Regions from separate parts of the Homo sapiens genome. Here all the other regions are linked to region 1. Evidence: promoter capture Hi-C in 16 types of primary human blood cells and fetal thymus (Javierre and others, 2016). All regions are on one chromosome and are shown on one strand. The core of a region is centred on a gene start or on the middle of the fragment in contact, and the rest is flanking DNA. Distances in the headings are between cores, read along the strand shown.

The links. Contacts are between HindIII fragments. The CHiCAGO score rates a contact against its expected background, and 5 or more counts as called.
Region 2: the fragment with the promoter of TERF2 here is called in contact with the fragment with the promoter of NQO1-AS1 in region 1 in 6 of 17 cell types (endothelial precursors, megakaryocytes, activated CD4 T cells and 3 more); the score reaches 10.6 in endothelial precursors.
Region 3: a fragment that was not itself captured here is called in contact with the fragment with the promoter of NQO1-AS1 in region 1 in 2 of 17 cell types (activated CD4 T cells and endothelial precursors); the score reaches 8.3 in activated CD4 T cells.
Region 4: a contact is called between a fragment that was not itself captured here and the fragment with the promoter of NQO1-AS1 in region 1, in 5 of 17 cell types (activated CD4 T cells, megakaryocytes, erythroblasts and 2 more). The highest score is 7.2, in activated CD4 T cells.
Region 5: a contact is called between a fragment that was not itself captured here and the fragment with the promoter of NQO1-AS1 in region 1, in 1 of 17 cell types (monocytes). The highest score is 5.3, in monocytes.

Annotation. Positions count from the first base shown.
Region 1 is chr16:69,706,888-69,711,575 of GRCh38, forward strand. NQO1-AS1 (NQO1 antisense RNA 1) reads left to right here and starts at 2,987. Exons shown (of 2, transcript NR_198990.1): 1 at 2,987-3,214; 2 at 3,350-3,696. It overlaps NQO1 (NAD(P)H quinone dehydrogenase 1), which reads right to left. Exons shown (of 6, transcript NM_000903.3): 6 at 2,514-4,394. The coding sequence ends at 4,089. SNORD13H (small nucleolar RNA, C/D box 13H) reads right to left here and starts at 1,788; the gene lies at 1,685-1,788. The HindIII fragment of the contact is 13,005 bases long and covers 1-4,688 here.
Region 2 is chr16:69,382,586-69,387,931 of GRCh38, forward strand. It overlaps TERF2 (telomeric repeat binding factor 2), which reads right to left and starts at 3,422. Exons shown (of 10, transcript NM_005652.5): 1 at 3,008-3,422; 2 at 2,806-2,901; 3 at 1,995-2,125. The coding sequence starts at 3,386. RefSeq lists a silencer at 3,038-3,417. The HindIII fragment of the contact is 13,848 bases long and covers 1-5,346 here.
Region 3 is chr16:69,404,271-69,409,029 of GRCh38, forward strand. No RefSeq gene overlaps it. Among named protein-coding and RNA genes, the nearest start is that of CYB5B, 18 kb to the right of the region's middle. The HindIII fragment of the contact is 5,546 bases long and covers 569-4,759 here.
Region 4 is chr16:69,364,850-69,370,117 of GRCh38, forward strand. TERF2 (telomeric repeat binding factor 2) reads right to left here. Exons shown (of 10, transcript NM_005652.5): 6 at 3,527-3,633; 7 at 1,958-2,350. Among named protein-coding and RNA genes, the nearest start is that of TMED6, 16 kb to the left of the region's middle. The HindIII fragment of the contact is 725 bases long and covers 2,433-3,157 here.
Region 5 is chr16:69,427,145-69,431,832 of GRCh38, forward strand. The region is part of intron 1 of CYB5B (cytochrome b5 type B); the gene reads left to right. Among named protein-coding and RNA genes, the nearest start is that of CYB5B, 4.9 kb to the left of the region's middle. The HindIII fragment of the contact is 5,174 bases long and covers 1-3,837 here.

The DNA.
Region 1 (4,688 bases), core at 1,737-4,236:
AGTAAGTGCCTCCTAAGTGTTACCTTGTATTAGTATTACTAGTCCTGATACTACTCTGCTCTTCTAGCTCTTGTGCACTACTTCTCACATCCTTCTATGTATTAGTCTGTTTTCTCTTGATTTTAACAGAATACCTGAAGCTGGGCAATGTATAAAGAAAAAGAATTTCTTACAGCCATGGAGGCTGAGAAGTCCAGGTGGAGGGGCTGTGTCTGGTGAGAGCCTTCTTGCTGGTGAGGACTCCCAAGAATCCCAAGGTGTTGCAAGCTATCACGGCAAGGGGGCTGAGCATGCACTCCAACCTGGGTGACGGAGTGAAACTGTCTCAAAAAAAAAAAAAAAAAAAAAAAAAATCATGAGGGAGGGCTCTGTCCTCATGAATAGATTAACCCACTACTCATGGATTAATGAGTTATCATAATTAGGCAACTGGCTGAGCATGCAAAGGACTCAGGTCTCCCTATTTTAAAGCCACCAGTTGCCCGCTTATGATAACTCATTAATTCATGAGTAGTGGGTTAATCTATTCATGAGGACAGAGCCCTCCCTCATGATTTTTTTTTTTTTTTTTTTGAGATGGTTTCACTCCGTCACCCAGGTTGGAGTGCAGTGGCACAATCACAGCTCACTGCAGCCTCTTCTGGGCTTAAGCAATCCTCCCATCTCAGTCCCTACCCCGAGTAGCTGGGACTACAGGTATACCCCCCACTACACCTGGCTAAGTTTTGCATTTTTTGTAGAGATAGAGTTTCACCATGTTGCCCAGGCTGGGTCTTGAAGTCCAGGGCTCCAGTGATCTGTCTGCCTTACCTCCCAAAGTGCTAGGTAGGATTACAGGTGTGAGCCACCATGCTGGCCCTCAGTCACCTCTTAAAAGTCCCCACCTCTCAATTCTGCCACAGTGGGGATGAAATTTCAACTTGAGTTTTGGAGGGGATAAATATACAAATATAGCATTTTGGCTTTTTCAAAGATGTCCCTTTGTCATCAGCATCAAAACTTTTCCTTTCTCTGAGTCATTTCCATTGACATAGAAATTTGTTGTAATGTCCCTGATCTCTTAAAAAAAATTGTTCTTTGATCACACAGCCTCCTCCACACTATTTCTATTCCTCTCCTTCCATTCTCAAACCCATTCAAATCAGGCTTTCATCACGCCACTCTACTGAAATGGTGCTTGTCAATGTCACCAACAAATGGGTTCCACATGACCAAGTCCAGTGGTCACTTCCCAGGCCTCGTCTTGCTTGGCTTGTCAGCAGTATTTGACACACCTGATCATTCCCTCCTTCAAACACTTTTTTTTTCCTTCAAGACAGAGTTTCACTCTTGTTGCCCAAGCTGTAGTGCAATGGTGTGATCTCAGCTCACTGCAACCTCCACCTCTTGGGTTCAAGCAATTCTCCTGCTTCAACCTCTCTAGTAGCTGGGATTACAAGCACGCACCACCATGCCCAGCTAATTTTTTGTATTTTTAGTAGAAACAGGGTTTCACCATGTTAGCCAGGCTGATCTCGAGCTCCTGACCTCAGGTGATCCACCCTCTTCAGCCTCCCAAAATGCTGGGATTACAGGTGTTAGCCACTGCGCCCGGCCATCTTCAAACACTTTCTTCGCTTGGCTTTCGGGACACCACACTCAGCTCTCCTGCATCTCTGAACACCAGTTTTGTTTTTTTTTTTCATGTCAGACGGGAAATGTACTGATGTCATAACAAGATTCAAGGGTGCCACATCTCACACATGCACGTGAACACCCAATCAACACACTTAGGAACTACAAAAGGATCTGACCACTGCTTTTCACTCTCATCTTCATCTCCTAACATTGTCGAGCCCCAGAGGTAAATCATCAAATCTCTTCTCTCAAAACTCAAAGAGATTGATCCCAGCCAATCTCATTGCTTTAAACACCATCTATATGTTGAAGATTCCCAAATGTGCATCTCCAGCCATAACTTCTGCCTTAACTCCAGGTTTCTCCTATCCAACTGCCTACTTGTCAGCCTCACCTGGCAGTCTTAATAGATGTCTCTTATTTTTTTGGAGACAGAGTCTCGCTCTTATCACCCAGGCTGGAGTGCAGTGGCACGATCTTGGCTCACTGAAACCTCCGCCTCCCGGGTTCAAGCAATTCTCCTGCCTCAGCCTCCTGAGTAGCTGGGATTACAGGCCCGCACCACCACGCCCAGCTAATTTTTTAAGTTTTTAGTAGAGACTGGGTTTCCTGACCTCAGGTGATCCACCCGCCTTTGCCTCCCAAAATGCTGGGATTACTACAGGCGTGAGCCATTGCACGCAGCCTGTTTTTCTTGATTTCTATACCACTCTCTTTCCTTTGAATTCCCTGAGAGGACTGAATAGGTTGTTCTATTACCATTTAGTAGGAAGCAGCCCTGCTGGGTGAGTTGTCAAGCCAGTCACCAAGGGGCTTCCAGCTGCAGTTTGTGATTGAATCCTCTGATCTGCCTCCCACTAGATTCCACTATCATTAGCTTCACTGATACCAATGAGTGTGGGTCTGTAGAAATGAATTTTATTTATTTAATTCAGATCTTTGAGAAATTTACACAAAATTGCAGTGAAGATGAAGGCAACAAAATATTTTCAAACTGAAACACCCAGCCGTCAGCTATTGTGGATACTGTCGAGAGCAAAAACCACCAGTGCCAGTCAGCATCTGGTAAAGGAGGTTTTCCAGCTCGGTCCAATCCCTTCATTTTCTTGGCAAGTAAGAGGCTGTCTCCCATTTTTCAGGCAACCTTTTCATCATTTCTCATCTCTTCTTTCAATGCACCACAAGAGGGCAGTGTTTTATCATATTCTCCTTGAATTATATAATACCAACAGTGGAATGAGATGACTTCCAGAAGTAGAAATTGACTATTATGCCAAAACTGTTCACCAAAGTTGATAAAACTCTAGGTTTACAATTGTACCCCAAGGTCATGGGACTGGACCCCATCCCATAGTAAGTCATCAGTTTAGCAATGATAAAGAAAATAACCTTCTGAAAATTTGTATAGATCAGAAATAAAGTATTTTTTGTGGAAGACTATTTTTAAGTATTGAAGGTACTATTTCCTTTCTTGAATTCATATTGCAGATGTACGGTGTGGATTTATTGGTTTATCTCTGCAAACCTTAAAGTAGAAGATTGCAAGGGCCAGGTGTGGTGGATCACGCCTGTAATCCCAGCACTTTGGGAGGCTGAGGTAGGCGGATCACCTGAGGTCAGGAGTTTGAGACCAGCCTGGCCAACATGGTGAAACGCCGTCTCTACTAAAAATACAAAAATTAGTCAGGCATGATGGCAGGCGCCTGTCATCCCAGCTACTAGGGAGGCTGAGGCAGGAGAATTGCTGGAACCTGGGAGGCAGAGGTTGCAGTGAGCCGAGATCACACCACTGCACTCCAGCCTGGGTAACAGAGCAAGACTGCTTCAAAAAAAAATTTTTTTTAATTAAAAAAAAAGTAGATGACTGCAGCAAAGAAGAGATTTATTAGCTCTTCCTTTCAAGGTATCTGTGTACTGTATATAAACAACAAAAGCTGACCAAGAGTGGTACTTGTGCTAGGCATATTAGTAACTGCTTTGTAATTGAAAGCAAGAAATATCATAAACAAGCATTAGATGGCTAACTACCAAACAAGTTAAGTCCCTTAGGGCAGGTAGATTCAGTCTTTTCCTTCTCTGAGCAATTCCCTTCTGCCATAAACTACAGAGAGGTGATTAATAGAACATTGGAGAGTTGAATGATACCTAGCCAAACTGTACCCTAAAACTTTAGCCCTAAAAAGAGGAATTAAATTGTGTAGATGCCTTTAAAGAACATTTTTCTAGCATCTTTCTACATCTTTCCCTAAGTGGCCTCTTGAGCCCAGTCGGATTTTGGTTATATGCCATGATAGTAATCATAAGAATCAGTTAAAAATGATCCAAAAATGCACGAATACAGTCGATTCCCTCTCATTTATTCCTTGTGGAAAAAGAAAAACACAAATCTTAAAAACTAAAGCAAGTCAGGGAAGCCTGGAAAGATACCCAGATTTGATAACATGTTAGAAGGAAATCCAGGCTAAGGAATCTCATTTTCTAGCTTTGATCTGGTTGTCAGTTGGGATGGACTTGCCCAAGTGATGGCCCACAGAAAGGCCAAATTTCTTGTTTTTCTCCTCATCCTGTACCTCTTTTTTCATTAAGAATCCTGCCTGGAAGTTTAGGTCAAAGAGGCTGCTTGGAGCAAAATACAGTGGTGTCTCATCCCAAATATTCTCCAGGCGTTTCTTCCATCCTTCCAGGATTTGAATTCGGGCGTCTGCTGGAGTGTGCCCAATGCTATATGTCAGTTGAGGTTCTAAGACTTGGAAGCCACAGAAATGCAGAATGCCACTCTGAGGATACAGAAAGCACAGAGAGGTAAGTCAACCAATTCCATGCAGTTGTACTATAAACAACAGAAGTTGGTCTGGGCTTCTCAGTAAGACACTCTGATAAGGAGGCCTCAGGCACACTAGAGAATCAGTTCAGAGCTAGCGTCTCTCTCTTACCCTCTACCTAGCCGTTACCAATTTTAGCCTTCTCAGGTGTGTTCTTCTTTAAATGCATAAACCTTGAAACTGTGCCAACCTGGATCCTTTGCCAAGAAGGCTGGAAGTTCTGTTACTTTAGGGAGTCTCAGTTTCTTG
Region 2 (5,346 bases), core at 2,172-4,671, 320 kb before region 1:
GAATGAGACTTCTGCCTTGGGTTCTTGCTCTCTTGCATGATTTGCTGTAGGAAAACAAAGCTGCCATGTTGCAAGCAGCCTTATCTGTGAAGAGGCCAGGAGCTGAAGTGTCCAGCCAACAGCCAGTAGGAAAGTGAGTCTTGTTAACAACTATGTGAGTAGGGAAGCAGTTGAGTCTTGAAATGACTGCAAACCTAGCTGACAGCTTGACTGTAACCTCATGAGAAACCCTGAGCCAGAATCACTAATAGACTCCTGATCCTCGGAAACTGAAAGATAATATTAACTGTTTTGAGCTGCTTATTCTTGGAGTAACTTGTTACACTGCAGTAACAATAAGCATAAGATCTAGTACGTGGTGGAGACTGGAAAAGGAGAACAGAGTCAACGTAAGAAAATGGCTACTCTGAGAGCTTAGATTTTTCTAATAGATTTTTCCTAATGAACCACCCAAATAAGGAGCTCTATGAGCCTAAATAATAATAATAAATACGCAGCTGAAAGATGAAAGCCCACAAAGACTCTTCCAGAAGAGGGGCCAGATGGCAAATCTATAGCCCTTGTGTTCTAAAGGAGTTGCTACAGGTTGAGCATCCTAAATCTGAAAATCCGAAATCTGAAATGCTCCAATGAGCATTTCCTTTGAGTGCCATGTTGGCACTCAAAAAGTTTCAGATTTGAGGGCATTTGGGATTTCAGATTTTTGGATTTGGGATGCTCAAACTAAATTTAATGCAAATATTCCAAAATCTGAAATCCAAAATGCTTCTGTTCCCAAGTATTTTGGATAAGGGATACTCAATGTGTACTTAATAGAAGTTAAATGAATTATTCTAAACTGGTACCCATTCAAAAGATCCTTAACAGTTCTGAAAGTAGGCATGAATTTCTCCTCCCTTGATAATGTCTATTCTGGCATATGCCTCCCCTCAACCTAAACCTGATTTTCCTATACTAAAAATGTACTCTTGAAATTATTCTTCCTTGGAAATGACTAATATTTAAGCATTTCTTTACCAGACCAAAAGTAGTATCTGCCCAAGGTCCTTAATTAAATAAATAAAATATGTGCACCTCATGCACACTAGTTGTTTTTTAATAGGGTACCCAAGTACAATGTACACAGCCAAGAGACAGGTTTTCCTTGTGAAGCAAGGTTTTTCTTTCTACCCCACCCCCATCTTTGGGATCCCATCCTTTTAGGGGTGCTCTTTTCTTAACCATTTCCCTATTTTCTACCACCAGGGCAATGCTTAGCTGATGTTTTCCATCTTCACCTCTGCATCTGCTTCCACACCCCCCAGCCTTGGTTTTGGGGGAAGAAAAATCTTTTTCTAACTGGTTCCCACAGCCACTTCTATGTTTTAAATTAAAATAATTTCTACTGTTTGAAGCTACCTGAGCCACAACACAGTGACAATCCCAAATTCCTAGACACTCCATTAGCTTTTTTCTTGAATTCAAGAACACTGCCTGTGCCGGATTTCTATCATTCTTCTACCATTACTATTTTGCTAGCTGGCTCATTATCCCAGCACCTCTGATTCTAATCTATCTGTTCAAAAGGGATATTCTCTAAGCCCCTCTTTCTGCAGACAGAAAGAACTCAAAGTCAGTACCACATTTTCCAAGGCCCCAGTTTATCTCCTTGGTTTATTATAAACAAGGGTGACCAAACCCTAGGCCAGAGTTACTTAAGGCCCTTGTAGAGTGCTCCCGAATGGTGCAGTAACCTCCAAAATGTCAGAGCTTCAATGCCAAAGCCACAAGGAAGACCACCCAAATCACAAAAACTGAGCAACTGCCATTACTTCCCAAGCCTGGGTGGGAAAGGAGACACCTGAAGAAATAACGTCTGTGTGTGTGCTTTCTTGCTTGCTCAATCTCTCCCCATTGCTGTTTTCCTCTGCCCCACACAGTAAAGAGTAAGTGCTGTATCCTCAAAGACCCTTGATTTTTGGTCAAAGAAAAAAGATATAAAAATAGAGCCTTACAGCTTCCTTGACCAGTTTTCTACTGGATTCGACCACTGCTTCTGTCAGTGTAAATTCCGTTTTAATCATCTCCAGCACATTGATAGCTGATTCCAGTGGTGTGAGCTCAGCCTCCATATCAAAGGAACAGTCTAGGACAAAGCACAGTTTTCATTTTTAAGCTCTTTTCTAAGGGTAAAAAAGTTATGTCCAAAAATTATATATATATATTTATGGAAATGGAGCATGCAAATATGGTAAGATTTGCATTTAATTTTTTGACATATTTGCTACAGGTTGACATACACGATAAGGGTCCAAATTCAAATCAATGAATTTAACGTGACCATTTTTTAACACCTGTCAAGACAGGCAAAAAAATTATTTTTAAATACCTGCATTTGCCTCTCAAATTCAGAATATACCCATCCTCCTCAGATACGAGTGGCAAGAAACTGACAACAGCTAAATAGCTTTCAAGTTAAATTCAGAGGGGAAAAATGTCAGAGTACTTCCACTCTGAAAAACTCTCTACCATGGGGGAAAAAAGATGTCCATATGAACATAACTCACTTTAGACAGGAGCAAAGTTGGGGTGAGCAATTAACAGGTGGGAGAAGATTTAAAAAAAACACAGAAAAGCAGCCAAGACAACCTTAACCGGAGAAAACTAGAGCCAGTCGAGCCAGAAAACAGACCCATCGTAGAATGAAAAAGACCACTCTGATGGAAACTATCGCACTTTAACCTGGAATCCTTCAGTTCTAGATATAAGTTTTAAAACAAAACCCTACGCAAGTAAGCCCAGAGAAGAACACAAAAATAGCCATACCTAAATTTTCCCCTTCTTCAATCCGCGACAGACACTGCATAACCCGCAGCAATCGGGACACGGTGTGCTCCTTCCCCAAGGGCCTGACAAGCAAAGCTGGGAGAGAAGACATCGTTGGCTGGGCGACCCCCAGTCCCGACTCCCGGTCCCCCGGACCCCCTTCCCCGGCGCTCCAACCCCCCTCCCCCGGCCCGGCCCTCACCCTGCATGATGTCCCGGATCTGTCTGAAGTCCCCGTACCGGCTACCCCGAAAGGCCCGCAGCGCCTCGTGGAAGTAGAACTTGAGCACCCAGCGATTGACTGCCTCTTCCAGCCGTGCCTCCCCCGCGCCGCGCTCCGCCGGGCCCCCCAGCCCCGGCTCGTGGCGCCCCCGCCGGGCCCGCCCGCTACTGCGGGACGCCCGCCTGCCAGCTGCCCGCCCGCTGCCGTCGCTACTCCCGCCTCCTCCCGCCATCGTGTCCGATCGCCGCGCGCCCTCCCCGCCCTCCCGGCCGGGCCGCTTCCTCGGCTGTGACGCCGCTGGGTCACGCACGACGCCCGGGCCGGAAGCGGGGCCCGCCGTCCCGGCTCCCGCGGCCATGATAGAAACAGCGTTCCGAGCCGCCCGCGGGCTTCTGGGAGGGAAAGGACCGGAGGGCCCGGCCCCCTTCTCAGACGCCGTAGTTCCCGATGTGCCGGCCGCAATGCCTCCTGGGGCTTGAAGTCCACACCGCCCAGGCCGGTGAACCCGGCGGGTTTTGCAGTCAACTTCGCTCCGAATTTACAGAAAACAGCTACTATGCTAGGGACGCGGAACAGTGTATTAGAGACTGAAAAACAGGCCGGGATCGGTGGCTCTACGCCTGTAATCCCAGCACTTTGGGAGGCTGAGGCGGGTGGATCACCTGAGGTCGGGAGTTCGAGACCAGCCTGACCAACATGGAGAAACCCCATCTCTACTAAAAATACAAAATTAGCCAGACGTGGTGGCGCATGCCTGTAATCCTAGCTACTCAGGAGGCTGAGGCAGGAGACTCGCTTGAACCCGCGAGGCGGAGGTTGCGGTGAGCCGAGATCGCGCCATTGCACTCCAGTCTGGGCAACAAGAGCGAAACTCCGTCTCAAAAAAAAGAAAAGAAAAAAAAGAAAACCAAATATGTGCACCTTATTAAACACTTTGAAAATTGTGGAAGAGAGCATACACAGAGGAAAGTCTTTAAACAAATTTGTATTTTAACAAATACTGTAATTATAAAGCAAAGACCAGTGTGATACCAATAAATAGAATGCACCTGGCAACCCAGCCGCTAGACATATACTCTTTGTAATCACAAAAATAACACATTTTGTTGTAGAACAATTAGAAAAATAAGCAAAAGGACCACCCATAGTCCCATAGAGGGTCTGAGTCACTTTCAGATATCTCTGATACTCTTGGAATTCACCAACTGGCACTTGACCAAATGGAGAACCTCCAGCTCAGACCTTAGTTCAGGATGGTGGTTGTGGGTGCCTCTTCCTGAGAGGCCCAGTAACTGGTCTAGCTTCAAAGATTGTCCTACCAGCCCCACTAGTCTGGAACCTGCAAAGATCCAGTTTGGGGCCACTCAAAGACAACTCAGAAGTGCAGGTGGCCATGTCCTTGAGGATGTGAATCCCATGCTGGACCTGTGAATTAATATCAGGACCTTAATATGTATAGTATCCTGGAAAGCCAAAAGTTCTATGAGGTACACGTTCCGGGATGAGAGAAGAGGCCTCTAGGTCTGACTGATCTTTGGTGATCATAGCTGCTTTTCTTTTTTTTCTTTGTTTTTCTTGAGATGGAATCTCGTTCTGTCGCCCAAGCTGGAGTGCAGTGGCACGATCTCGGCTCACTGCAAGCTCCGCCTCTGGGTTCATGCCATTCTCCTGCCTCAGCCTCCCGAGTGGCTGGGACTACAGGCGCCCACTACCATGCCCAGCTAATTTTTTGTATTTTTAGTAGAGACGGGGTTTCACTGTGTTAGCCAGGATGGTCTCCATCTCCTGACCTCGTGATCCGCCCGCCTCGGTCTCCCAAAGTGCTGGGATTACAGGCGTGAGCCACTGCGCCCGGCCCATGGCTGCTTTTCCATTCCAGCCTGCTTGCCTTAACCAGGAACCAAATCACTTGCCTTTATTTTAGTTTTTTTGAGAAAGTTTCACTCTGTAATGCAGGTTGGAGTGCAGTGGCACAATCGTGCTCACTGCAGCCTTGAACTCCTGGGCTCAAGTGATCCTCCTGCCTCAACCTCCCAAGTAGCTAAGACTACCAGCGTGTGCCACCATGCCTGGGTAATTTGAAATTTTTTTTCGTAGAATTAGGGGTCTTGCCGTGTTGCCCAGGCTGGTCTCGAACTCCTGGCCTCAAGCACTCCTCCCACCCTGGTCTCCTAAAGTGCTGGGGATTTCAGGGTTGAGCTACTATGCCTGGTGCCAAATCACTTGCCTTTCAATTCTAACTTTTTTTTTTTTTTTCTGAGACAGAGTCTTGTTCTGTTGCCCAGGCTGGAGTGCAGTGGCACGATCTTGGCTCACTG
Region 3 (4,759 bases), core at 2,092-4,591, 300 kb before region 1:
AACGGAGAAAGAAATGTATTTTCTTTTCTTCTTGTAATCAGAACTGTAGCTTGCAATATTTTTTTCCCAAGCTTCTAAGAGAGTTTTGCAAACAATTGGAGTAATTAAAAGTTCTCAGAAGTAGCCGATGGTGCCCTTTTCACCGAGGGAATGTGGGCCAAGCATGATATATTAAAAGAGAGGGAGCTGCTCTATTGAAGTTAAAAATAATCTGTCACATGGCTAATTTGTTGGAATGCAGCAATAAAGGGCTGTGGGCAGAGGGAGAGCTGGAAGCAGCTGGGAAGTTTGCAGGCAGAGTGCACGCCCTGGGGACTGTGTTTGTAGGGAGAGAAAACAGTGTTACAGCTGCCTTAGGGCACCTTATCAGAAAACCCACAAAATGGGCAGGAAGAAGGAAGAGTAGGTTTGAGTCCAGAGCATGACCTTTGGGCTTATCAGACAGTGAAGGGATGGGTCAGAACTTGTCACCTGTGTTCACGGGATGCTGATTCACTCAGCAAGGATGAAGTCTTTTCAGATCCCCCTGCATTTGAATCCGTTTCAAAGGAATACATAATTCAAAGGAAGCTTTTGATCCGAAATCCATGGGAAAACCAATCTATAGGGTCTTGAGCGAAAAAAGTTCAAGCCAGGAATACAAATCCTAGTTTGGGGGATTGGGGATATTATAATTTTTGAAATGTTAGAGTTGAAAGAGAGAAAACAAATTATTTAGTATAATCCCTGAATTTTCCCTTCCTTCCTTCCTTCCTTCTTTCTTTCTGTCTTCTTCTTTTTTTTTTTTTTTTTTGAGACAGAGTCTTGCTCTGTTGCCTGGGCTGGAGTGCAGTGGCTCGATCTTGGCTCACTGCAACCTCTGCCTCCCGGGTTCAAGTGATTCTCCTGCCTCAGCCTCCTGAGTAGCTGGGACTACAGGCATGCACCACTGCGCCCACCTAATTTTTGTATTTTTAGTAGAGATGGGGTTTCACCATGTTGGTTAGCCAGGATGGTCTCGATCTCTTGACCCTGTGATCTGCCTGCCTCGGCCTCCCAAGTGCTGGGATTACAGGTGTGAGCCACCACGCCCGGCCTACTCCCTGAATTTTCTACATGAGGCAACAGGCTCAAAGAGGTTGATTTGCTCAAGGTCACTCAACCAGCAAGTAACAGAGCTAGATTCAAACCCAGGTCTTTAGCTAGAAAGGAAGGGCATAGTGGTTAGCAAATATAGGGTTCAGAATGCCCTGATGTCAAATCCTGGCTCTACCAGCAGGACCCTTGGGCAAGTTTCTAACTCCTCTCAGTGTTAGTTTCATCATCTGTAAGATGGGAATAACAATAGTACCCACTAGAATTGCTACAATGTATGTAAAGTGCTAAGTATGACATCCAGCCTAGAGGAAAGGCTTAATCAAACACTAGATGTTATCATGCCACAGCTTTTTCATCACCCTGCATCAAATTTCTAGAGCTTTCCGCAGATTAACTTGTCCAAACATCCTCTTTGGTTTGGGTGGGATTCTCTTTCTCCCTTTCCCACCTCCAACTCTCACCCATTATATATAAAGAAAAAGAGGGTGGCCGAACTTTAACCTCTCTATCCTCTGGTAGACACTTTCGCTAGCATTTCCTACATTGTAACACACCCATGAGACTTGTTTTCTCTTAAGCTACATGCCCTCCGGCCTGTATTTTCAGTATGGTTTCCAAGTTGCTGACAGGCAGAAACGGTGCCAACATGAAGAAGCAAGTATTGCTGCCCCAAATGCAGCAGCAAGATGTGTTTGAATGTTTTAGAATAGATGATCATTTTTCAAATTCATAATGGGCACCGCTCACAGAGGGGGCTCTTAACATACAAGGCAGGTCTGGGCTCATAGTTAGCACTTCTGGAAAGTGGAGGCCGAGTTCTGTGTGTGCACATACCAAAGAACAGGAGCCTACCTCCAGCAGCTTGGGCAAAAGCAAAGGTGAATTTAGTGGCTCAAGTAACCAGAAGACCAGATTTCATTGATGACTAGATTCAAGTGTTCACTAATTAGACACATTTCTGCTTTGTTGGGCTCCATTCTTCAGACTGATTCTTTCTACTTGGCAGAAAAAAAAACATCTACAGAGAGTCTAACCTTTACTTTTTCTCCAGGTTAGTTTTTTTTTTTTTTTTTGAGACAAAGTTTTTGCTCTTGTTGCCCAGGCTGGAGTGCAATGGTGTGATCTCGGCTCACGGCAACCTCCACCTCCCGGGTTCAAGTGATTCTCCTGTCTCAGCCTCCTGAGTAGCTGGGATTACAGGCATGCGCCACCACGCCCAGCTAATTTTATATTTTTAGTAGAGATGGGGTTTCTCCACTTTGGTCAGGCTGGTCTCGAACTCCCGAACTCAGGTGATCCACCTGCCTCGGCCTCCCAAAGTGCTGGGATTACAGGCTTGAGCCACTGTGCCCAGCCCTGTTTTTTTTTTTGTTTTTTTTTTTTTGAGATGAAGCCTCTCTTGATTGCCCAGGCTGGAGTGCAGTGGCATGATCTCTGCTCACTGTAACCTCCGCCTCCCGGGTACAACCAATTTTCCTGCCTCAGCCTCCCGAGTTAGGGCTACAGGTGTGTGCCACCACACCCGGCTAACTTTGTATTTTTAGTAGAGATGAGGTTTCACCATGTTGGCCAGGCTGGTCTCAAACTCCTGGTCTCGTGATCTGCCCGCCTGGGACTCCCAAAGTGCTGGGATTACAGGCATGAGCCACCCTGCCCAAACTGGTCAGTATTCTTAAGGAAAGTATGTCACGCCTCCCTGAGTTGTCTTTCCCTGATTGGCTGCTTTAAATCACATGCCTATTCCTGAAACAATAGGGCTAGGAGAACAGGCTTCTCTGATTGGACAGAGTGGATCACATGCCCAACCCTTGTCACCAAGGGAAGGCGGAGCATACTGATTGGCAGCACCACTACTTCACACAGAATGGAAGAGGAACAGTTCCTAAAAGAAAAATTGGAGCTACAGAAACCAGAAGACAGGGAAAGGGATACAAAAGTCCATGACAAGACCTACGTGCATTTTCCTTGGATGGTGGTTCATAGCTTGCTTCACATCCTCAAAGTTATTGTATAATCCAAGAAATAGTAAGACTTTTGGGGCCAGGCACGGTGGCTCATGCCTGTAATCCCAGCACTTTGGGAGGCCGAGGCGGGTGGATCATTTGAGGTCAGGAGTTCGCGACCAGCCTGGCCAACATGGTGAAACCCTGGCTCTTCTAAAAATACAAAAATTAGCCGAGCATGGTGGCGGGCGCCTGTGATCCCAGCTACTCGGAAGGTTGAGGCAGGAGAATTGCTTGAACATGGGAGGCGGAGGTTACAGTAAGCTGAGACTGCACCACTGCACTGCACTCCAGCCTGGGTGACAAAGCAAGGCTGTTTTCTTAAAAAAAAAAAAAAAAAAAAAAAAAGAATTTTTGGAGAAGAAAATGCTTCCTCCTACTCCAGATATTTCCTTTGGTGTGAAGGGCCATCAACTACTATAACGCTCCAGCCTCCTCTTCAGCCCTTACTCCTGCACATAGGGAAAGGAGAGCATTAGCATATTCCCAGCCCCAGGAGAAACTGGGCATGAGTTGCCGTGTCTTCCTCTTCCTGGTATCTGAGGATCAAGAAGGGAGCACAAATTCTCTCCCTCCACATGGGAGGGTGCTCCGGTCCACCGCTGCTTGTGACTGATGGGACAGTCTGTCTTATTAGGATACAAGGACACACTCAGCCACATTCTACAGCCTATAGCCTTCATCAGAAGATAATCCATCTTCTGACTTTTTTCCCCCCTCAATTGATTTAGAGCCTGAGTAGGGAGGAAGTGTGTTATTTATTTATTTATTTATTTATTTATTTATTTATTTATATATTTTTTGAGACAGCATCTGAGTCTGTCACCCAGGCTGGAGTAAAGTGGAGCCATCTCGGCTCACTGTAACCTCCACCTCCCGGGTTCAAGCAATCCTCCTGCTTCAGCCTCCCAAGTAGCTGGGACTACAGGTGTGCGCTACCATGCCTGGCTAATTTTTGTATTTTTAGTAGAGATGGGGTTTTGCCATGTTGGCCAGGCTGAGTCTGCTATTTATTGAATCCCTTCTCAAAAGTTATCAAGAACCACCAACTTAGAGCATCAAGGACCCATAGATTCATCCTCTCACCTGTCCCCTTCCTTGCTGTATTCCCAGCCCCAGGAGAAGAAGCTGTTCTCCTTGGGAATCCATAGAGATAGTGGAGTGATAGAAGTAGCTTTGGAGGGAAATTACAAGAAAGGCAGAAAAGTTAGATTTACTTACAACAGCAGGTGAGAGGAAATGGATTATATCACATGGAGCGGGGCGGGGAACAATGGAGCAGTGATTTAATAATGGACTTCACCAGAACCACGTGCAGGGTGTGGCATCCCTGGTATTTTTCCACAGCCTCACCCTGACCGGGACCACAGTCACATCTGTCCTCCACCTCGCCCAACCCACTTGTATCCTTTTACGCCCACTTCTTGGAAAATAGATTGTTCCACTTTCACAGAGAGGAGCAGGAATTTGGTGCATACACACCAGCTTAAATAACATAGTATTTTATTATTATTAGTTTTTAATTACAAAAGTAGTATACAATCTTTGAAATAACTAAACAAAGATATAGAGAAGCATGGAAAAGTATAAAGATGAAAGCTAGTCAGCTCAAAGCCATCAACTCGAGATAGCTATTGTTAACCTTTTAGTTTATTAAGTGTTCAGCCTTTTTTCTATAC
Region 4 (5,268 bases), core at 1,545-4,044, 340 kb before region 1:
TTCTGTAAAGGGCCAGATAGTATTTTCACTTTGCAAGCCTGTCTCTGCTGTGGCTACTCAACAAACTACCAATGAACAGAAAGCAGCCCTAGATAATACATTGATGATGGGTGTGACTGTGTTCCAATAAAACTTTATTTACAAAAACAGGCAGTAGGCTGATTTGGCCCCAGGGCCACAGCTTGCCAACCCCTGCTGCTTTAGGGGATTCATTAGACTTCATATCCTTGACATATGAGAGAGGGTGTATGTCTGAAACCTTCACAAATCCTCCCATTTACAAAATTACTGTAATCTCGCACTCTCCTGTTTCCTCATCTGTTCCCGGGAGCAATACCTATAGTGCACAGGATTGCTGTGAGAAGCCAATGAGATCCTGTATCAAATGAGAATAACATGCATGGAGCTGCATCCACTGCCCAGCAGCTATGCCCATTTGCCAGCCGGTGACTCACTTCTACATACAAGTAGTGGTGACATAGTGCAAATCTGTGCCTGAGGATAAATCACTTATCAGATGCCACAGCCCTTTGGGGCACCAAGTACAATGCATGCCAGACCACAGGTCCCCAAATAATACAACACAGAGCAGAGGCAGAGGTGGCCTTGGGAGATCCATAAGGTGGATCACTAGTGGTGACCAGGGAGGAGTCTGTGGAGGAGGGAGAAGTTGTTTTTGTTTTTGTTTTTTTGAGACGGAGTCACACTCTGTTGCCCAGCCTGGAGTGCAGTGGTGCAATCTTGGCTCACTGTGCAGCCTCCGCCTCCCGGGTTCCAGTAATTCTCCTGCCTCAGCTTCCCAAGTAGCTGGGACTACAGGCGCCCACCACCACGCCTGGCGAATTTTTGTATTTTTAGTAGAGACGGAGTTTCACCATGTTGGCCAGGCTGCTCTCAAACTCCTGACCTCAGGTAATCTGCCTGCCTCAGCCTCCCAAAGTGCTGGGATTACAGGTGTGAGCCAGCGCACCCAGCCTGAGGAAGGAGAATTGTAAGAGAGGCAACTTGTTGTATATGGTATACAGGCCATGGGCTTTTCTGTCAAGACTGACTTGGATTAAAAATCCAAAGCCCATCTTTGCCACTTTTAGCTGTGTGACTTCAGGTGAGCTAAGAACTTTTCTGAGCCCTTCTCCTCTGTGTAATGGGGCTAATATATCATCACCTCACAGAGTGAGGATTGTAGTGACTCAGTAAGATGATACATGAAAGTGCTCTGCCCCCAGAAAGCACTTCATCAACAACGGCTTTTCTTCCCTTTAAAGGACAAATGGGATTTGGACAAGCAATGATGAAGGGATGACGGTCCACTGTGGGGAATGAGAGGAAGCAAAAGTACAGTGGTAGAAACAAACAACATGTTCCAGAGAGCAAGCAGGCCAGTCTGCCTGGAGGGAGGATCCACCACAGGACACAAAGGGAAGCAAAACTCAAAGCCAGGATGAGAATCACAATGGGGAGCAAAATTAAAGTATTCTAGCCACTGCCCCACAGTACCTAGCAGGACATGGGAGATTAGTAAGTATTCACTGAACTTGCCAAGTCTCAAATGCTCAGAAGGGTGCAAAATTATACATATTCATCAGTCTCTTTTTAAGGGTCAAAGTATAATGTGGCCCAATGCAAACAAATTTCTTTTAACACACAAGACTAATGTTTAGAAGTCAAGACACTCAGATGTTTGCTAAAAATGAAAGCAGCGATGAGTAGGAGGCTCTGAAACCTTTCCATTCCCACTCATGCCCTAGTGCAAGGCTTGGAAGCCCACATGCGGGGCTTCAGAACCGGCAGGGATGGCTACGTCGTCACTGGCCACTCCTGCGTCAAGTTCTAGCAGTCTGAGCAAGCCTTGGTGGTGAGTAACTTAGCTGAAAGTTACTTCATTCACGGAAGTAATACCAGGCCCAACCAGGACCACCAACCAGCCCCAAAATTTCTACAAAGAAGGTCTTCATACTTGGGATTCTTCTCTCCAGGGAGGGGTTGGTTGAGAACGGTGGGCTTGGATGGTGGCGCTGAAGCGGCCTCCTGGGAGGAGTTGAGGCCTGCGCTGGGCTCAGTACTCTGGCTGTCCTCCTCCAAGACCAATCTGCTTATTGTCATGCGCTTGTTCTTGGGCTGCAGTTCCGAGCCACCCTCACCGTCAGCCGGGGCTGAACTTTCGTTTTCATCTTTTCTGGGTCTCTTGTTTTTGAGGGCTGGTGATGCTGGGAGAGCTTGAGTAGGAAGAACCAGATCCTTCTGGTCCAGTTTTGCAAAGGCTGCCTCAGAATCCTGTGCACCAGACAGAGTCTTGAAAGCTGCTTTCAGAGTCATCATTCCAATGGTGGTTGGAGGATTCCGTAGCTGCCTGCAAATCAAGCATAGGCACAAAGATGTTTTTCACCACTGATGATGCTCATCCAAACAGCCACAACTTTTTTGAAGTTTGAAGCTTCAAATTCCAGTTGAGGAGGCTTTAAATGTGATATGTAAGTTGTATTATGAATTTAAAACTCCAAGTTAGAGAACCTTTATTTTACTTCTCATTTTATTTTTAGAGATAGGGTCTGGGTCTGTCCTAGACAGTAGATAGGACAGAGAGATAGGATACAGTGGCACAAACACAGCTCACTGTATCCTAGAACTCCTGGGCTCAAGCGATCCACCCACCTCGGCCTCCCAAAGTGCTGGGATTACAGGCGTGATCCACCACACCCGGCCTACAACACACTTAAGAGCAGGATCTTGAGAATTCTCAGAGTAAAAGGCATGCCACACAGTCTTGGAACAATGAGAAACTGCCTTTTAAAAATAAAGTTCATCTATCATTTGGAACAGTTAGTATGCTTTAGGGAAAAACTGTTAGGAGAGGGGGCAAACTGGCAGCCTGCAGGCCAAATCCATCTGGCAGCCTGTCTTGTTGTCTAACCAACATGAAAAAAAATTTTTTAAGTGGATCAACTGTTAACATCCAAAAACTGGGAAATCTCATGGAAAACCCTGGACATCTCATACAAAAATCTGAGCACCTGAAGCCTGAGCATCCTTGGATACTCCCACAGAGCAACAACCACAAGAAGCTGAAAAGCACATCCCCTGGTTCCCAGCCCCATGCTCTCAGCCTAGGTCCACTTTGTTCCTTTAGGTTTCCTAACCGGCCCTCAAAGGGCATCTAAGCTTGTGACCCCTGCTTTAGGAACTGGTTTTGGGATTCGACTCACAGATCTGAGCAGTGCTTCCTGAATGTATTAAGAGATTAGGTGTCCACAAGAAAAGTACTGAGTCAATACGGGGGAGGCAAGGAGAGAGAAATGGTGAAAGAGCCTTTGAGGAATGGCCAGTCAGGAAGTTGTCAGGGACCCCAGGCATCCTGTTTCCTTATCTTCCCAGGGTGTGCAGTCTCCCCCAGTGCCTTGTATGAGTAACCTCGTAACACGTTAGTAGGTCGGAGTGCTGAGAGGAACTGATCCTGGCCTAAGGAGGAGACTGCTTCCAGCGACCACCCTAGTGTTTTACCCAAGATCACAAGAGAGCATCTTTTTACCTTGCGGGTTCTCTGGGTGGCTTTTCCACAGGCCCTGGTGCTGGCTGTTTATCTTCCTTCCCTGTACTTGAGGCAGCGGACTCAGATTTCAAAGCCTTTTTGGCCATCTGGGAAAGGAAGGATGTCATCAGGAAGAAGAGGCCACAGAATTGCATTAATTCTCTGCTTCTTTCACCAAGAATATACTCAATATGCAAACAAGTTCACTTACAAATCCAATCTAGGCATAAAACGAAGGACATAAAATGGGAGAGAACTTGTAAGACTTATAAATCAAGCTTTTTTTATTCAAACTTAAGATAACTAATACATTTTTTTTGAGAGGGAGTCTTGCTCTGTCGCCCAGGCTGCAGCACAGTGGTGCAATCTCGGCTCACTGCAATCTCCACCTCCTGGGTTCAAGCAATTCTCCCATCTCGGCCTCCCAAGTAGCTGGGATTACAGGCGCCCACCACCATGTCCAGTTAATTTTTGTATTTTAGTAGAGACGGGGTTTCACCATGTTGGCCAGGCTGGCCTCGAACTCCTGACCTCAAGTGATCTGCCCGCATCAGCCTCCCATAGTGCTGGGATTACAGGCATGAGCCACCATGCCCGGCAATAAATGTTCATACTAATATCTTCCAGTTTGTGTATAGAATTTTTATAACTGTTTCTACAAATGTTTTGCCTTATTAACAACTGTTTGAGAATCCTTATCTATATAACACAAAGAGCCCTGAGTAGGCTAATCAGGGCTCTTTGTGTTATATAGATAAGGATAGTTTCCAGTTACCTGGAATGGAAAGGAAAGGACCCTAGGCCAGGCTCAACTATCTTGACACCTGCTGCCTGAATATCCCAAACTACCTGCTTATAAATAATCTGAGATTTGCCAAACGACTGCTAAGATCATGGACACTATCCTAATATGGGCCTGGCAGATCTGTTACGAGACAGAATATTTTCCACATTCTCAAAGTCCTGGTTTCTTTTGCCCAGGCTGAAGTGCAGTGGCACAACCACAGCTCACTGGCAGCCTCAAGTGATCTTCCCACTTCAGCCTCCCAAGTAGCTGGGACTACAGGCACGCGCCACCACACCTGGCTAATTTTTGTATTTTCTGTAGAGAAGGGGTTTCACCATGTTGCCCAGGGTGGTCTTGAACTCCTAAGCTCAAGCAACCTGCCTGCCTTGGCCTCCCAAAGTGCTGGGATTACAGGTGTGAACCACTGTACTGGGCCAAAGTCCTGGTTTCAAAAACAAAACAAAACCACTCTCACTCAGTGTTCCTTCACCACAGTCTCCCATCTATGACAGCCTGGGTCTAGTTCTTCCCTATGCTGTCCTGAGCCTCACTGCTTCCATTCTTTTATCTCTTTGATCCAATTAAAGAATGTTTTCATTTGGCTTCTTTCAACTTTATACTTTCAGTGACACCTTTCTCCACACCATGCCTTCTTCCTGTTAGCAACTCCATCGTACCACATCTACCAAACCACCCTTCCTCCAAACTTAGTTCACAAGTCATCGCCTTTGGGAACCACCATCGATTGCAAGTGAATGTTCTACTTCAACCATGGCAGATTAACCATGTGTAAAGGAGATAAAAATGGCAGATGAGGGAGACCAGGTGTGTTCCATTTGCCTCTGCCAGTATCTCTGCTTTTGTATTATTTATTTATTTATTTTTTGAGACGGAGTCTTGCTCTGTTGTCCAGGCTGGAGTGCAATGGCGCAATCTTGGCTCACTGCAATCTCCA
Region 5 (4,688 bases), core at 1-2,500, 280 kb before region 1:
AGAATCGCTTAAACCTGGGAGGTGGAGGCTGCAGTGAGGTGAGATGGTGCTGCTGCACTCCAGCCTGGGTGACAGAGTGAGACTCCATCTCAAAAAAAGAAAAAAAAAATCATGTTTTTCATTTGTGGTTTTATTTCCCTCCATTTTTTTTCTTGATTGATTCAGAATAGATGGTGAGCTTGGAGGGAACACTCAGCCCTTACAGAGAGCATTAATTCAGTCTCAAGTAATAGTTGCTAACCTGTTTCTTTCTTTTTTTTTTTCCTCTGTGAAGATTCCAGAAGTAACTAACCTGTTTCAACCACATGCTGATATAGCCAGAGACATCACTAATGTGCCAAGGTTTCTCTTGGAGCTTGAGCTGCAGCTCTTTACCTGCAGTTTTGTTTTTTTTGTTTTGTTTTTTGAGACAAGGTCTTACTTTCACCCAGGCTGGAGTGCAGCTCACTGCAGCCTCAGTCTCCTGGGGTCAAGTGATCCTTCTATTTCAACCTCCCGAATAGCTGGGAAAAGGTGTGCACCACGACGCCTGGCTAATTTTTAAAATTTTTTGTAGAATTGGGGTCCCACTGGCTGGGTGTGGGCTCATACCTGTAATCCCAGCACTTTGCGAGGCGAAGGTGGGCAGATCATGAGGTAAGGAGTTCCAGACCAGCCTGACCAAAATGGTGAAACCTCGTCTCTACTAAAAATACAAAAAAATTAGCTGGGCGTGGTGGCACACACCCGTAATCCCAGCTACTCAGGAGGCTGAGGCAGGAGAATCGCTTGAACCCGGGAGGTGGAGGTTGCAGTGAGCCAAGATGGTGCCGTTGCACTCCAGCCTGGGCGACAGTCAGACTCTGTCTCAAAAAAAAAAAAAAAAAGAATTGGGGTCCCACTATTGCCCAGTGTGGTCTGGAACTCCTGGGCTCAAGGGATCCTCCTGCCTGGGCCTCCCAAAGTGCTGAGATTACAGGTGTGAGCCACTGTGCTCAGCCTAATTAGCTATTCTTATTTATTCTGTTTTCTTGTTCATTCCAAGCCTATTCATTCATTCACTTATTCAAATATTTATTAAGCCTTTACTATGTTCTAGACACTGTTCTAGGTGCTGGGGATTTAGTAGTGAATAAACAGCTATGCCCTCATGGAGATTACATGGCACAGGAGGCAGACGATAAGCAGAGTAAATAACTAAAATATATACTACATTAGGTAGTGGTAAGTGCTAAGAAGAAAAATAATACAGGGGGCTGGACACGGTGGCTTAGGCCTGTAATCCCAGCACTTTGGGAGGCCGAGGCGGATGGATCATGAGGTCGGGATTGAGACCATCCTGGCCAACATGGTGAAACCCCATCTCTACTAAAAATACAAAAATTAGCTGGGCATGGTGGCATGTGCCTGTACTCTCATCTACTTGGGAGGCTGAGGCAGGAGAATCACTTGAACCCAGAAGTTGGAGGTTGCAGCGATCCAAGATTGTGGCACTGAACTCCAGTCTGGTGATAGAGTGAGACTCCGTCACAAATGAAAAAAAAAAGAAAAATAATACAGGGAAGAGGACTGTGGAATATTTATGTGGTGTGAGGAGGAGGGTTTGAAATTTTAGCGATGGTGCCGAGATAACTTTATGAAGATGACTAAGTAAAGGCCAGGAGCAAAGTAAAGGAGCTAGCCATGAGGGTATCTGTAGGAAGAGCATAGAGCATTCCTGGCAGAGGAAACAAGTTCAAAGGCCTTGAGATGGGAGGATGTCTGGTATGTTTGAGGAACAGTCAGGGAGGCCACAGTGGTTGAATAGTTGCACATGAGATCAGAATGATCAGGGGAGGACAAATCATGTACAACTTCACAGGTTTTAGGAAGGACTTTGGCTTTTATTCTGAGATGGGAAATCATTGGAGCAGAAGAGTGACATGATGTGACTTAATGGCGTAATAGGATCGTTCTGACTACATTGTTGTGAAAGACTGAAGGAAGAGTGTGTCTGGAGTTGGTTCCTTCCGGTGGGTTTTTGGTCTCTCTGACTTGAAGAATGAAGCCATAGACCTTCGCGGTGAGTGTTATAGCTCTTAAAGGTGGCACAGACCCAAAGAGTGAGTAGCAGCAAGATTTATTGTGAAGAGTGAAAGAACAAAGTTTCCACAGTGTGGAAAGGGACCAGAGCAGGTTGATGCTGCTGGCTGGGGTGGCCAGCTTTTATTCCCTTATTTGTCCCCGCCCACATCCTGCTGATTGGTCCATTTTACAGAGTGCCGATTGGTCCATTTTTACAGAGTGCTGATTGGTGCATTTACAATCCTTTAGCTAGACACAGAGTGCTGATTGGTGCATTTTTACAGCATACTGATTGGTGCATTTACAATCCTCTAGCTAGACACAAAAGTTTGCCAAGTCCCCACTCCACCCAGGAAGTCCAGCTGGCTTTGCCTTCTTAAGAGGACAAGGGCAGAATTGAGGAGACCAGTTAGGAGGCTGTTTTAGTAATTAGGCAAGAGATAGTGGGTTGTACCAGAACAAGTGTCAGATTTTGGATGTGTTGTGATGGAAGAGCCAATAGGATTTAATGATGCGCCAGATTTGGGGAATGAAAGAAAAATGAGTCAAGGATAACACCAAAGTTTTTGGCTTATGAGTCTTCAAGAGTTGGGTTGCTATTAGATGAGAGAGGGAAGATTTACATTGGTATTCATCCTTCTCTTTCCAATCTGATGTCACTTTGGGGCCCCTCCTTTAGCAAGAGGTTCCTAATCTTAAGTGTCCTGTGTCTGTAGCTTACCATTTTTTTGATTAATGACTGGTTAGAGTATGATACTGGAGTTTGAATGTGGTAGTTTAGAATTAGTAATATAATTGAATTGTCTTTCCCTGGCAGATTAATTTTGCATTGTTTGAATCAGTGCATTCATGAGTTGTTGAAATCATGAATGAAAGTAGTACATGTCATTATCTTTCCACCATTTAGTAGTTTAGAAAAATCACATAAAAATGATTGTAATATCTTATGACATTGATAGAAAATATCAAAGTGCATCTCTCTTATCAAGGGTAAAATTTTGTGAAACTTTGTTCAGTTATATATAATGTATTTTTTTTTCTTTTTTTTGGAGACAGTCTGGCTCTGTTGTCCAGGCTTGAGTGCAGTGGTGCCATCTTGGCTCACTGCAGCCTCTGCCTCCTGGGCTCAAACAATCCTCCGCCTCAGCCTCCCAGGTAGCTGGGACTACAGGTATGTACTACCACACCCTGCTAATTTTTTTGGTATTTTTTTTGTAGAGATGGGGTTTCATCATGTTGCCCAGGCTGGCCTCAAACTCCGGGCTCAAGTGATCCTTCCGCCTTGGCCTCCCAAAATGTTGGGATTACAGGCATGAGCCACTGTGCCTGGCCTATAATATCTCATGTATATGGTGTTTATTGGATTGCAGTGTAAAATTATTTCCTTACTGGGTATTACAAGTGAAAATTTGGAAGCCATTGACTTGTGTATAAATAGTCATTTGTCAAAAGAGTAACTTGAAATAACATTGTGATATTTTAAAACTTTTTTTTTTTTTTTTTGAGACAGAGTTTCACTCTTGTCGCCCAGGCTGCAGTGCAATGGCATGGTCTCAGCTCACTGCAACCTCTGCCTCCCAGGTTCAAGTGATTCTCCTGCTTCAGCCTCCTGAGTAGCTGGGATTACAGGTGAATGCCACCATGCCCGGCTAATTTTTCTATTTTAGTAGAGATGGGGTTTTGCCATGTTGGCCAGGCTGGGCTTGAACTCCTGACCTCCGGTGATTCACCCGCCTCGGCCTCCCAAAGTGCTGGGATTACAGGTGTGAGCCACCATGCCCAGCCCTATTTTAAAGCTTTATATGTGTATTTATTTATTTATTTATTTTGAGATGGAGTCTTGTTTTGTCGCCCAGGCTGGAGTGCAGTAGCATTACCTTGGCTCACTGCAACCTCTGCCTCCTGGGTTCAAGCGATTTTCCTGCCTCAGCCTCTGGAGTAGCTGGCACTACAGGTCCCTCCCACCACACCTGGCTAGTTTTTATGAGATGGGGTTTCACCATGTTAGGTAGGCTGGTCTCGAACTCCTGACCTCAAGTGATCTGCCCACCTTGGCCTCCCAAAGTGCTGGGATTACAGGTGTGAGCCACGGCACCGGCCTATATGTGTTTTTAGAAACTGTCACCATAAATGAGAATATTACTTTAGGAACCATCTCATAAATGGGATAACATTTTATTAACCCAACAAATATTTGTTAAGTTCTATATAGTAGTAGGCCCTGGTGGTGTATAAAAATAAACATAAACATGGAACCCCAGCCTGGGCGACAGAGTGAGATTCTGTCTTAAAAACAAAACAAAGCTGGGTGCAGTGGCTCACGCCTGTAATCCCAGCACTTTGGGAAGCCAAGGTGGACAGATCACTTGAGCTCAGGAGTTTGAGACCAGCCTAGGCAACATGGCAAAACCCCATCTCTACAAAAAATACGAAAATTAGACGAGCATGGTGGCATGAGCCTGTAGTCCCAGCTCCTCAGGAGGCAGGGGTGGGAGAAGGGCTTGAGGCCAGGACATCGAGGCTGCAGTGAGCCGAGATAGCACTACTGCACTCCAGCCTGGGTGACAGCGAGACCCTGTCTCCAAACAAACAAAACGAAAATATCCCATGATACTGCCTTCTTGAAGCTACCATTCTAGAGGAGT